Linked DNA regions of Homo sapiens: region 1 is linked to region 2. The links are contacts of gene promoters, found by promoter capture Hi-C in human tissues and cell types (Jung and others, 2019). All regions are on one chromosome and are shown on one strand. Each heading gives the region's core, a stretch centred on a gene start or on the middle of the fragment in contact. The rest is flanking DNA. Distances are from core to core; before and after follow the strand shown. Region 1 overlaps LOC105374910 (a long non-coding RNA gene). Region 2 holds the start of BMP6 (bone morphogenetic protein 6).

Region 1 (6,348 bases), core at 1,889-4,388, 510 kb before region 2:
ATTCTTTGGGAATGGAAGTACCGTACTAAATGCTATCAAAATACCTACGCTTGTCAAAAAGATGTCATTATTTTACATTTGTCTGATGCTTTACTATAAAATCGAAAATGTCAACCACAATCCTTCTTGCTTAAGAAAATACTGTGTATATGGAAATGGCGTGTACGGTTATGATGACACTATTGACTGGATTTTGGTTATGCATTTTTTTTCAATAAGGAAATCATTGTTATGGAGTTTGTGTTTCTTTTTTTCTTTTTTTTTTTTTTTTTACAGAAGGCAGTATCATTAGTCGGGCACTCAGACTGCATAACCCTTCTTACAACAGGCTCAGTCACAAGGAACCATGTAGATTGGAAAAAGAAACACATTACTGCACACCCATGAAAGGGGTCTTTGTAAAAGCACAGGGGGCAAGGAGGTGCATCTAGATCAATCAGCCTCAAACACAGGGTGAGATATTATCAAACCAGATTTCACTCAAGCTAACAGCTCTTAGCTCTCAAGTTCAACTGTTTTCTAATACATCAAATTTTCCATTAAAAGGCAAACTATTGGTAGCATTTTTGGTGGGGGAGATTATGGAAAATAATTTTAGAATGTTCATGTCCCCTTCCATGGGACAGAGGGAAGGACCTTTCATAGCCAGGTAGCAATTCTAGAAAAATGAAGCCTCTCATGTTGGAAGAAAAATAAACCAATTTTTAATACTCAAGAATACAATGGCTGTTTCCATTTTCAACCTGGTGGTTTATTTACACTTTCGGGACCATTACAGATCTCCTGCGAGGCAGATGAAGTGGATTTCATTTCTGCTCTTACGATCCATAATAGCTGCACCACAAGAAATAGCAATTCCCCTTCTACATCAAGTTATGCTAAGTGAGGATATAACATAAGTGACTTCACATGAACATGGGAATTACATAAATGAGTTGTTTAGGTAAAAACCACTGCTAAGTTAAGCTGCCTATTTTTTCACTCATGAGGGTTGAATACAGTGACAAACTCATTTGTGGATGTTGGGCAATTTGATCCAAGGTGACCTGTTACTGCCTCTGCTCAGAAATACATATTCGTTACAAACTAATTCTCCTTTTACCAAACTCATGACTTTGAGAACAATAATCCTACCTAGCAGCTTGCAAAATCTGTTAGGGCTGGACAAGGTACATTTTTTTTTTTTTTGAGACAGTCTTATTTGGAAAGATCAGTGTAAGAATTCAAAGCCTACTGGTTAAAACCATTAGTCTATTCCTGGACTGGTCCTTACTCACTAAGCCATCCAAGGTGCAACTTAGACATCCTGTGCCCAGGATCCATTCCAATGCCCTATAGACATTCAAATCTACAGCATTTCTTTGAAGTAAGACCTCAAATTCCTCAGGCCAAAACCTTTCCACACAGTTAACTTTGCAAAGAAGCTTACTTATATCAAGGGTGGAAAACATTTTCTTACTTAAATTCTCTCAAGATAAATAATTAGGTCTCTAATTAAAGGCTTGAAGCATTTCTGATTTTACACGAAGACATACATCAGCACAAGAAAACATGTTAGCACGTTCAAAAATAACACCATCATTTAATATCTATATTAAACCTTCTCTTAAAAGCAAGAAACAAGTAGGAGATTGAGTCAGAATTGTTGCACTGTGTCAGCCCCTTCTCAGCCTGTGTCCTGAATTCTCACCTATCATTCTAGCTCTCCTCTAAGTGCAAACATCCAAGCATGTGAAAGTTTTGCGTGCAGGTGTGTTTCCTGTACCTGCCTCAGTGTGAAGCCACCCTGTTTCTGGCCCCGAGGAGAAGTTCTCTTTCCTTGCAGCAACATAATGTTTTAAAAAGCTGACTTTCAAACCTCTTAGTGAATTTTTTAATGGATTAAATTCATCATGTCACCAGCTGCTGTGCAGCTAATAGAGCCATAAAACACTGTATTAAAGGATTACCCATGCAAAATTTCCTCTGGTGCTAATGTGAATTTTAATACTTTTAACATTTAGTTGAGACGGGAATGTCCAAGAACAGCTTGTCCAATAGGTTGTTCTATGAAATTAAGTTCCTCGTCTCATCAGAAATGCCAGGACTCCATTAAGTTAAAGTTTTACAGAGAGGCTACGATGATTCACTGTGCAGCATTTGTGAAGAGAGAGACAGCATCTGCTTCTACATTAATGCTATCTAAAAAAAAAAGAAGAAGAAGGGAGGAGAAAAGCAAAACAGTCATGAATCCCGTAAGTTCACGGAGACTGGGCTGAACAGAAGAAAACGCTAACTTCAGATTTGTGGAAGGTCAATTTATAAAAACGGAAAACAATGCTAATAATTGGGAACACCTAAATTTATATCCTCTTACAAGTCACTTGTCAGAAGGTCAAAAAGTCTCAAAGACACACAAAGTGGCGATTATACAAAATCACATGGATATCAAACTTTGCATAAGAAGAAATGTGATTATCTATATCTGGGCAACAGAAGAAAGAACCGAGGGAAAAATGTAGCTGATAGGGAGTGAAAAGAATCATAGGGAACGATGGCGGAAATTATGTAGTTCAAGTTCTTCATTCTACAGGGGATAATGCTGAGACCCTGAGAAGTTGTAGCTTGCCCAAAGGTTACACAGCTAGTCACATGCAGATTGGAGAATAAATCGCAGGTTTCCTGACACCCAGCCCGAGACACCATGTGTCTCCCTTACGTATCTATAAATATATACATATCGATTTTATTTATGTGAAATGGCTTACATATTAAGTAACAATAAAGAAGCAAGGAGTAGACAATAATAAGATCAGGATCCTCCAGCGATATGTTGATAAATAAGCTAACAAAGCTGTATATATTGCGTGTCGTTTCCAAAATAGTTCTAAATCAGACCACTTTCAGAAGACTTAACTTGAAATGTTACATTCTTTGTTTCATCTCCTTCCCCTTTTTTCCTGAGTGACCCTTCAAATCCAGATTGCAACTCTTACCTGTGCTTCTGAAACATTACAGCATTTCATTATTTGCTAAAGAAATTGCATCTTAAGTGAGGTTACTAAAAACAATGCAATCTTTCTTGAATGTTGTTCAGTAATTGGGCTAAATGTAATCATCGACGGAGGCTGCAAATTCTCATCACAATTAAAGTGGACATTAGAGTGTGTACCATGCCCTATTTGAAAATACAACCCAAGGATAATTGGTTTTCATGGAAATTCTCCAAAGCCAATGTTCTTCACCCCGACTGAATTTTGTCCACAGCTCCATATTTTGTACTCTGTATGTATTGCTGTTCTGAGAGCCTGTCATTTCTTATCAGAATGAGAAAGGCTAAAGAGATAATATTTCAATAACATACTGGCCTGATCATAAAATAACTCAATGGAAATGTGTAACTGCCTCAGGCAGCTCGGCAGGGTACTCAGCAGTCAGATCATTTCTATTCTGGGTTTTTTTTTTATGGTTACATTTTCTGTTATATCAGACATCCCCTCAAGTCTTAGTTATGCTTTTATTCAAAAGGGAGAACCACAGTATAAAGACCTACAAAACTTATTATGATATATTACTCTAAAGAAATAAAAGTCGCTGCCACAGTGGCATATTGATAAGGACAGGCCCGCCTCTTTCACTGACCTTTCTCCATCATCTCCCCCACCCGGAGTTGAGGCTGAGCTTCTCAGTTGCTAGGCAACAGGGGTCACAGTTTTCAGGTCTTCAACCTAGTCAAAAAGAAGACATGATCTTCAGAGAAAAGGCGGATACTCGGCAGCAGTGAGAATTTCAATACATACGGAGGTTTCTGATTTTTTTTTATCATGCTAAAGGCTGAAATGGAGAAATTTTGACTTGTCAAAAGATTGTGGGAACAGGTTTTTAAGTTCTGGTGATTAGAATCTATCACTGAAACAATATGAAGAAAATACAGTCAAGCCTCTTTTTGATGAACGCACTGACATGTGGCTTAGGATTTTAGCTGCCAGGAGAATGATGATCAAGACACGTCAAAAACAGATCTTGGGAGATGAATTTGGGGGCTGATTTGGAGATGAGGGTTTTTTGGTTTGGGTTTTTTGGTTTGGTTTTAACATTCCTTCTCAGACATTACTGCATTCTGGCATGTTTAAGAGCAGTGCTGCAGGCAACACAGCCGCTCCTGAAGGTCAGCTGCAAGAAAGCTCATTCCCCACCCCTTTTCCTAGCACCAAGTCAGCACTCCCTTTAAACTTTAATAAAGGGCAGGAGAAAGAACCTATTCCTCAACCGGAGAGGAACACGGCACCACTATGTAATTGCATTTGACAGTACATTCTGTAGGTATGTATTTAACTTCAATTATTATTACTCTAATAACACTTCAATCATGGCAACTTTTTAAACACAGAATTTGGTAGATTTAAAAAAGTGTGAGAGTTAGTAAGAGGGCTTTCGAATTTCCCAATTCATGGTCTACTTGATTATTTTTGTCCTAGAAAAAGAGCAGCAATTTTTATTTCACCTTATTTCAATACCCACTCACTCTGTAAATAATAGCAGTATCTTGGAGAAGAGAAATAATTATTAACTCCGAAAGTTTTAATTTGCTCAATGTGACGTTTTGAGGGAGAGAATAAAAAAGTGTGTGTGAGTGTGTGTGTGTGTGTCTGTGTGTGTGTTGGGAGAAGATAGCTAATTATAAACTCCAGATGAATAATTTGAAATCTGGACTTTAGAAAGCCAGATATAACGGTTTCCTGGTTTCTTTCACTCTGGGCCATATCTAAGTTCCTATAGCTCCCACCTGATTTGAGCCCTGGCCGCAAGATAGACATCCCAGCTCATATAAATAGCAATGAGATAGCCAGGGGGCAAGTCATGTGCCTGGAGACTGTGGCTGTCAGATAACTCTAATGATTTCTTTGGCCCTTCAGGGTGAAAAATTTACTTCATACTTTTTTTGTCTAATATTTGCCATTTTCCTTTCCCTGAAGATAACTGTCATTTTTAGATATGTCTGCTGCCTTTTCCAAGTTGTCAGCATCAAAAGAACACAAAACGAGGCAGTTGGAAAAGATGTAGACCCCGTTCCACTGAGTGAGAAGCACAGAGATGCTTTAAAAGGCAGAATTGGGCCGGGCATGGTGGCTCATGCCTGTAATCCCAGTACTTTGGGAGGCCGAGGCGGGTGGATCACCTGAGGGCAGGAGTTCGAGACCAGCTCGGCCAACATGGTGAAACCCCGTCTCTACTAAAAATATAAAAATTAGCCAGGTGTGGTGGTGCATGTCTGTAATTCCAGCTACTCCAGAGGCTGAGGCAGGAGAATCGCTTGAACCTGGGAGGCAGAGGTTGCAGTGAGCCAAGACTGCACCACGGCACTCCAGCCTGGGCAACAGGAACAAAACTCCATCTCAAAAATAAATAAATATAAAGGCAGAATGGGTGAAATACTTCTCAGCTATTGCTAAGCGTCCTCCTCAGATCTGTTCTGCACCAGGTCCTTGCTGACTCACAGATCCTGCTTTTTGTTCAGTCTTGGCCATGACTTCCAAAACTCACAGGCCACAGAGGGCAGGAAGGGGAAACATGAGTTTCCTTCAGAGTGGCCTCCTGCAATCATAAGGACCATCTTGGATGGTGTTTCTAGGCTTGTGTGGACAGTAGACCGGAACCTGTCCAGAAACTGGCTGGCTGGTCTACAAGGAGGCAAGCACAAAGTCAAGAGTAAGAATTAATTTTTTTATTATTATTATTCTTTTTTTCAGACAGAGTCTCACTCTGTCGCCCAGGTTGCAGTACAGGGGTGCAATCTCGGCTCACTTCAACCTCCACCTCCTGGGTTCAAACAGTTCTTCTGCTTCAGCCACCCGAGTAGCTGGGACTACAGGCATGCGCCACCACACCCAGCTAATTTTTGTATTTTTATCAGAGACGGGGGTTTCACTGTGTTGGCCAGGCTGGTCTCGACCTCATGACCTCAAATGATCCACCAGCCTCAGCCTCCCAAAGTGCTGGGATTACAGGCTTGAGCCACCGCACCTGACCAAGAATAAGAATTTGGAAATTTTCACCACCATTGGATAGAGTCACTATATGCCTGTTGAATCTAATCAAAAAAAAAAGAGATCCTATGTATTGTATGTCTCTTTCTATGAAACTCTTCCAGTAATTTTTATAATATATTATATTTTATCAAAGTATGGGCCCACAATGGATTGGATCTTTTTTTTTTTAAAGTTTTTTTAAACGCTGGCCCTGGAAAAGGACTGTCTTGAGCTGAGGTTATTGTATTCAACTTGCAATGGTCCTAGTAAAATTACGATGAACCAGGTCTCTATACAGAAAACTCTTTAAAGTAGAGAGGCAGGAGCCCACTGAGGGTCC
Region 2 (6,441 bases), core at 2,470-4,969:
GGGCATCTGGGTTTTTTTAAGGCGTTCCCCCCTACCTCCCACGTAACACCCACGTGATTCTAATGTGTAGCAATGTTTGAAAGCTTTGCTCTTCATCTCTTACTGGGACAATGTATCCATTTCCTTCAGACATTGGGATCTCCTGTGCCAGTGTTTCCTGACCACGGTAGCATATTAGAAAAACCTAAGGTACTTAAAAAAAATGATGCCTGTGCCCCACCCTCAAAAGATTCTGACCTAACTGATCTGGGCCCACGAAGCGGCCCTAATAACCCTAGAACTCTAAGTCCCCCGGGTGATACTACAGGGCAGCTAATGCTGAGAACCTCGGTTCAAGCCCAGGAATTGTTTTCCCAGGGACTGTAACACGATTCTCTGTGAAGTAGCCAGGAGCGCCAGTCTTCCTCCCCTTTGTCCAGGTTAGGACTACCCCCAAGAGGCAATAAAACATTTCCCCAGAGCTGCCAGGAAACCTGGAGGCGGGGTGGGGGCGGGGGGTGAGGGTGGAAGGAGAGGAGAGGAAGAGAGCAAGGGGAGGAATTTACTAAGTCAGAAGCAGCAGAAAAGTTAGAATAAGGAACAGCGCTGGTCCTCTGCCACCCTGGCCCCCACCCACTACAAATTTTATTGACTGGCATGAGAATTTCCTTAGAATGCTTCCTGGAGGTGGCTCAACCTTGGATTTGGTTCCAATAAATTGTGAAAATTCTTGTCCAATCAGAACCCCGGGCAGTGCAAGCAGCCAGATTGGCAGGCCCTGAGCCTGGACTCCTGTGAGATTCTGTTTCACGAATTTCCCAGGAGGATTTCTGCACCACTTGGATGCCAATCGCCCTGCCTCCACACCCTCCCTTGGCTCTTACCCCCCATGTTCTCTCCCTCAAAGCTCAGTGGAGTTGGGAATCATAGATAGGCTGGTAAAGAAATCACCCAGATAGTCTACGCGGGAATCATTCCAGTAAGTAATGCCGTTAAAAGATGAGCGTCTTTGACGTGGCTGGGAGACCCGTGTGCTCCTTTGGCGAGTGTCTGCTCACCCACTTCAGGGCCTGGGCACAACCACCGTCTCACATGGGAAGGAGGCCCGTGAAGCCCCACCCCGCCGCGCAGCTGCAACCATCCCGGGCGTAGCCAGTGCACCCATGATCTGTCCGCTGACAGCGCGTCCCTCCATCCTATGTCTGCGCTAAACTAAGTCAGCTTATGAATGAAAAGCAGTGCAAACCGGAGGCACTGACTCCGAAGAAAAGAGTCTTCTCTGCACCCTTCTCATTTACAGATGAGAAAACTCAGTGGGGTGGGAGGGGGGAGAAAGGGCGATGTGACTGGGTCCGGGTTTGCCACAGAACATTTGTGGCGGAGCTCCATTTAGCCGCCCGTGAATTTCCATTCTGTTGCCTGGCAACCGGTTCAGAGGAGCTCAGCGCCCAACCCCGGCCCCTACCCCGCACCCTTTCTCTGCCCGTGCAGCTTGGGCTGCATTGATCAAAGGTTCAGCCTTTGGGGACAATGGCCAAGGGCATGTGAGCCGGGGCACAGGATGGATTACCCCAGTTGAGCTTTCATCCCGCCCCAAACAGAAGCGAGCCCCGCCCGGCCGGGATCCGAGCGCCTTCCGCGGTCCTTTTGGGACTTCCCTCTGCAACCTCCCCTAGTGCCGTGGATACCTCTAAACATACTCATGCCAAGTTTTCAAAGTTCCCAGCCGCTGTCGGATTCCCTAAAAGTCTCGGTGGGAAAACTGCACTCCAAGTTAGGGGGCAAAAGGCGGCAGTTTAGAGGGGAAAATCGTACTGAAGAGCCCTCTTCCCAGGATGGCCACACTCGGGCTGGACTCTCCTGCTGCAGTTGAGTTAACCTGGCCAGAGCTGGGCAGAAGTGAAAAAAAGCGCGGAACGTGCTCAGGGAGTCCGCAAATACACGCCCGCTGGGGACAGCGCTCCCGGAGCCCCGCGGCCCGGCCGGCCAGCCGCCTCTGGGGGCCTCGGCGCGCAGCCCTGCCCGCGGCGCGGGGGAGCGCATGTGCCGCCCACCGCCGCGCAGGTGGCGGGAGCACAGCCTGCCTGTCCCCGCGTTCTCTGGCGCACCAGGCGGGACCCGCGCGCCGGGAGCTCCTCCACCCCCTCACTCCATCCCCTGGGCCCGGGACACTGAAAAGGGGGAAATGTTCTCGTCATTACGTTACCCCAAATCCTTACCCAGGTTCACAAAGCTCATGACCATGTCCGCGTCGTTGAGGAAGGCGCTGTCCTGCGCGCTGGTCAGTGGGGACGCGCCGCCGCTGCCAGATCCGGGGGCCAGAAGGCTCTTGCGGTTGAGCGGGTGCGCGGCGCCCGGGGGCGGCTGCCGACGCTGGGACGAGCTGGCTGCTTCGTGGGGCCAGGACTGCTGCCTCTCCCCCTCCGACGCCCCGTCCTCGTCGTTGTCGGCGGACAGGGCGTTGTACAGATCCAGCATGAAGAGGGGCGCGGACTTCAGTCGCCCGGGAGGGGGCTCTCCGCGAGGCAGCTGCTGCTGCTGCTGCTGCTCCTCCTGCTGCCGGAGCGCCGGGGGCTGCGGCTGTTGGAGGCCGTGCAGGGGCCGGGGCCGGTGCGGGAGCCCCAGCACCGACAAGATCTCCTTCTGCATCTCCCGCTTCTCCTGCGTCTTGAGCCGCCGGTACAGGAAGCCCGAGGAGGACTGCGGCGACGGCGGCGGCTGCTCCGTGCGGCCGGGGCTCCCGCCGTCCCCCAGCAGCTGCCCCCCGGCGGCGGCGGCCGCGGCAGCGGGCAAGGGCGGCCGCAGCGGCGGGGGCCCGCAGCAGCTGCACAGCAGCCCCCACCACCAGCACAGCCACTGCGCCCTCCGCCCCAGCCCCGGCATCCCCGCCCGGCCGGGCTGCCCCCGCGGATCCCGCGAGGCGTGGAGCGGCGGAGCGAGGCCGGAGCGCGGCCGCTGTGGCCCTTGGCGTGAGCAGTCCCCGCCACCTCTCGGCGGGCTCGCTTCCCCTTCCTGGCCCTCAGTCCTTATCTCTCATGGTCGTCCGGGGCGCCCCCAGTTGCCCAGGCTAGAGAGGTGGCGAAGGGGCGATCACCAGGAGAACCGCTTGGAGGGGAGGAAGGGGAGCCTCACAGCCTCGCGCAGGTCTCTAGAGGCGCGCGGTCCAGGCCAGGTGCGTCTGAGTCCGGGCTGCACTGCAGCCTGCGCCCTGGCTCCTGCGAGTCGCGGCGCGGTCACTCTGGGCCTCGCTGGCCGCACACGTGCGCTGCCCCGCGCTCTCCCTGGCGACTGAGTGGGACCCGGGGCAGCGGGGAGCGGGGCCGCTCACGAGCTGCGGGAGATGCCCGGCATCACCGTGGCGCACGCCCCTCCCCAGATCGCAGGGCCACCATGAAGTTTACCCCGTTGCAGGGCCCAGGCTGCGGCGACAAGGCGTCCCGAAATGCCAGTCTATTCCGCGAGGTTTAACTTCCTTCTCGCTCACGAACTCCGCGCCCCTGAGCTCTCGGGCACCGTCGCTCCCACTCAAAATCTCCGCGCGCCGCACGCCTCCTCAAGCGGAGGCGGCGAGGATCTTGCTTTCCGTTCGGCGGTCGCCCGGCTGCCCAGCAAACCCGCTCGCAGAAAGGATGGGAAGGAAGGGGGCTAGTGCACCGAGCAGCGGCCGCGGCGGCGGCGCCGGAATTCGGTCTCCCGCCTCTCCACGCCGCGCTCCCCGCAGCGGCCAACGTGGGCTTTCTGCTGCGCGCCCGGCTCAGGTACCTCACTCCAGCCCCGGGACTCCCCGCCCCGCGGTAACCGACAGGCTGGCAGCCAATGGGGACGCGAAGCTCGCGGGCTATTTAAATAGCCCCGCCCCTTCTTTCACCCTCCCTCTCCCGAGAGGCGTCGCCTCCGCCGCGCGTAGGTTTCAAGACCCGGGAATTCTTGGAGGCATGCGAAGAGCCGCGAGGTGCCAAAGGCGAAGAGGTCATCGCTAGTAAGAATGATCTGACCAATACCCCGATCTGAAGCTTTCTCTTTTACCATCATTTAAAAGGCCTAAGTTGATGCTTTAACTAAATAAAAATAATAACAGCGATTAAATCACTATACTGCCAGAACTGAGGAAGAAAAGAAAAATGATAGCTTTTCCATCCCTTCCTTAGTTTCTCTTATTGATGTAATGTAGGCGTTTAGCGGACACGTGGCTTTCCACGGCAGCTGCTGGAAGTTGGGACACACCCTCCGGGGAGGCTACTCACAAACTGACCACAGAGAGGGCCACATGTAACCCAAGCCAGCGTCCTGAGGGTTTGGGGTCGGATGTGTTGACTTCTCTGTTCATTTGTGCTTTGGTTTGGCTTCTTAAGCTAGCACCCAAAAGAAAGAGGGTGTAATCAGACGATATATTAGAAAAGGCGTCCCCTGTCTTCTTGGAAATGTCTTGATTCTCCAGCTTATCTATTAATGTTGCATTTTAATATTGAAATACAATGTGACTTATATGGTGCAAGATAAAACTTGAGGAGAGGTGATAAAGATAACTCCAGGAAGAGCAGGGGCTTGGCATGCATTCTGAATGGTCAGGACAATAGACAGGGTCCTGAAACACAGGTTCCTGTGGATTTTAGACAAGATAACACCACCACCAACACCATTTGCCAATGAGGACACAAATTCATTTGCCTTTACCCCGCCCGAGAACATCCAGTCATCTATGGATCGTAGAAGCAAATTCACGTAAAACATGAAGGTTTTTTACTTGGTGAAAATTGTGTGGAGTTGAAAATAAAAACTGCAATTTTCTGACTTGCCAGCCTTAGTCCAAATGGTCCTAGGCATTTGAGAGTGAAGTCAAATAGATTATAGACTGTGGGATTCATGAATTTATGAGATCATAGGCTTTCTGTTGGTCCAAATCTTATAAGCATTCCTATCCTATTTCCAAGAATCTATTTCTCATGGGTAAATAGAGACCACCACTGACTCCAACTACCCACTGAGTCCTTCTTTCTAGTTCTGCCTTGGCCCAGACACAAGTGGTCATTTAGAAGAGTCTTTATTTCTACAAATATCTGATAGCTATGAATTTCAGGGCACAAAACTTATGTGAATGCCAGTCTTTAACCATCTCTACAGGGATTTCTTCCATCCGAAAAGATAATACGATACTTTGTCTGGGATGCCCGGACCCTCAGAATTCAAGAGCCCTGTCACTTCTTTTTTCTGTAGGGAACATGTTAGGGACATAAATTCACTGCAGTGCCCCACAGCAGCCAAGAGCTCTGCTCAGAAGATCTGAAATTCCAGCAAATACACCTAGGCTTCCTGCCAAGAGCCTCCTTTTTTAAACCTAGTTGCACCTTCCTCATAAGACTTCTGGTGAGATGCAGGCAGAGTAAAAGACTTTCTACCTACGAGGGCAGTGGGGAAGACACAGGAAACTCAACATTTCAAGCATGGATGAGGGCACCTTGGTGGGGCTATGTCATTTAAAACACAAAATCGAGGGGTGACCCACCTATTGTAGAGGTTGAGCATCCCTAACCCAAAAATCTGACATCCAAAATGCTCCAAAATCTAAAGATTTCTGAGAGCTGACATGATGCCTCAGATGGAAAATTCCACACCTGACCTCATAGGATGGGACATGGTCAAAACACAGTCAAAATTTTCATCCACAAAATCATTTGAAATATTGTATTAAATTACCTTCAGACTATGTATATGAGATATATACGAAACATAAATGAATTTCATGTTTAGACTTGGATCCCATCCCTAAGGTATCTCATTATGTATATGCAAATATTCCAAAATCTAAAAATCTGAAATTTGAAATACTTCTGGTCCCAAGCACTTTGGATAAGGGATACTCAACTTGTGTATGCATCTATGGGGTGGACCTAGTGCAGAAGACACACACACACATGCACACACACGCACGCCATCTCTCCCTTTCCTTAGACACTAAGAAGTAGATGGGTTCATGTGACATGAGTCTAAAGTGACTATCAACTAAACATCTGAGCAGCAACTCTGATTCAGGTCTGTTGCAGGCTCCTCACTCCACCAAGATGGATTCTCAGTTTCTGTCGAATGGGGCTAGAATGAGGAGGTGTCGAGAGTACCTCCAGGTGATGAACATGAGAACGCACATCTCCCTTAAGAGCCAGAAGAAGCTCCTAAAAAAACTGTGCAGTGAGACATTACAATGATCATAAGGACAGTGACATCCAACTGAGGATGTGCTCCTCTTCTGTCCACTATGGCTCCCAACATGTGCACATCATGTTTGCGGGACACATGCAGGCAAGCCCTTGTATCCATTGGGACAAAGGGGACAGGAAGAGATACAGTTCTAGGATTTTAATAACCTTGAAATTGGGACTACTCTTTCTCCAAGCCAGTTGGACCTCTAGGTGGATAAAAATCCCCTAACCCCCACCTTGTCTACTCCCTGCTTCTGGGACCCTTCCC

Evidence for each region. Contacts are between HindIII fragments. The study calls those that stand out against the background at their distance.
Region 1: a contact is called between a fragment that was not itself captured here and the fragment with the promoter of BMP6 in region 2, in 1 of the 25 tissues and cell types used here (thymus).

Annotation. Positions count from the first base shown.
Region 1 is chr6:8,236,290-8,242,637 of GRCh38, reverse strand. It overlaps LOC105374910 (a long non-coding RNA gene), which reads right to left. Exons shown (of 4, transcript XR_001743950.2): 3 at 3,622-3,707. Among named protein-coding and RNA genes, the nearest start is that of EEF1E1-BLOC1S5, 140 kb to the right of the region's middle. The HindIII fragment of the contact is 5,550 bases long and covers 364-5,913 here.
Region 2 is chr6:7,723,377-7,729,817 of GRCh38, reverse strand. It overlaps BMP6 (bone morphogenetic protein 6), which reads right to left and starts at 3,719. Exons shown (of 7, transcript NM_001718.6): 1 at 2,199-3,719. The coding sequence starts at 2,862. The HindIII fragment of the contact is 10,073 bases long and covers 1-5,333 here.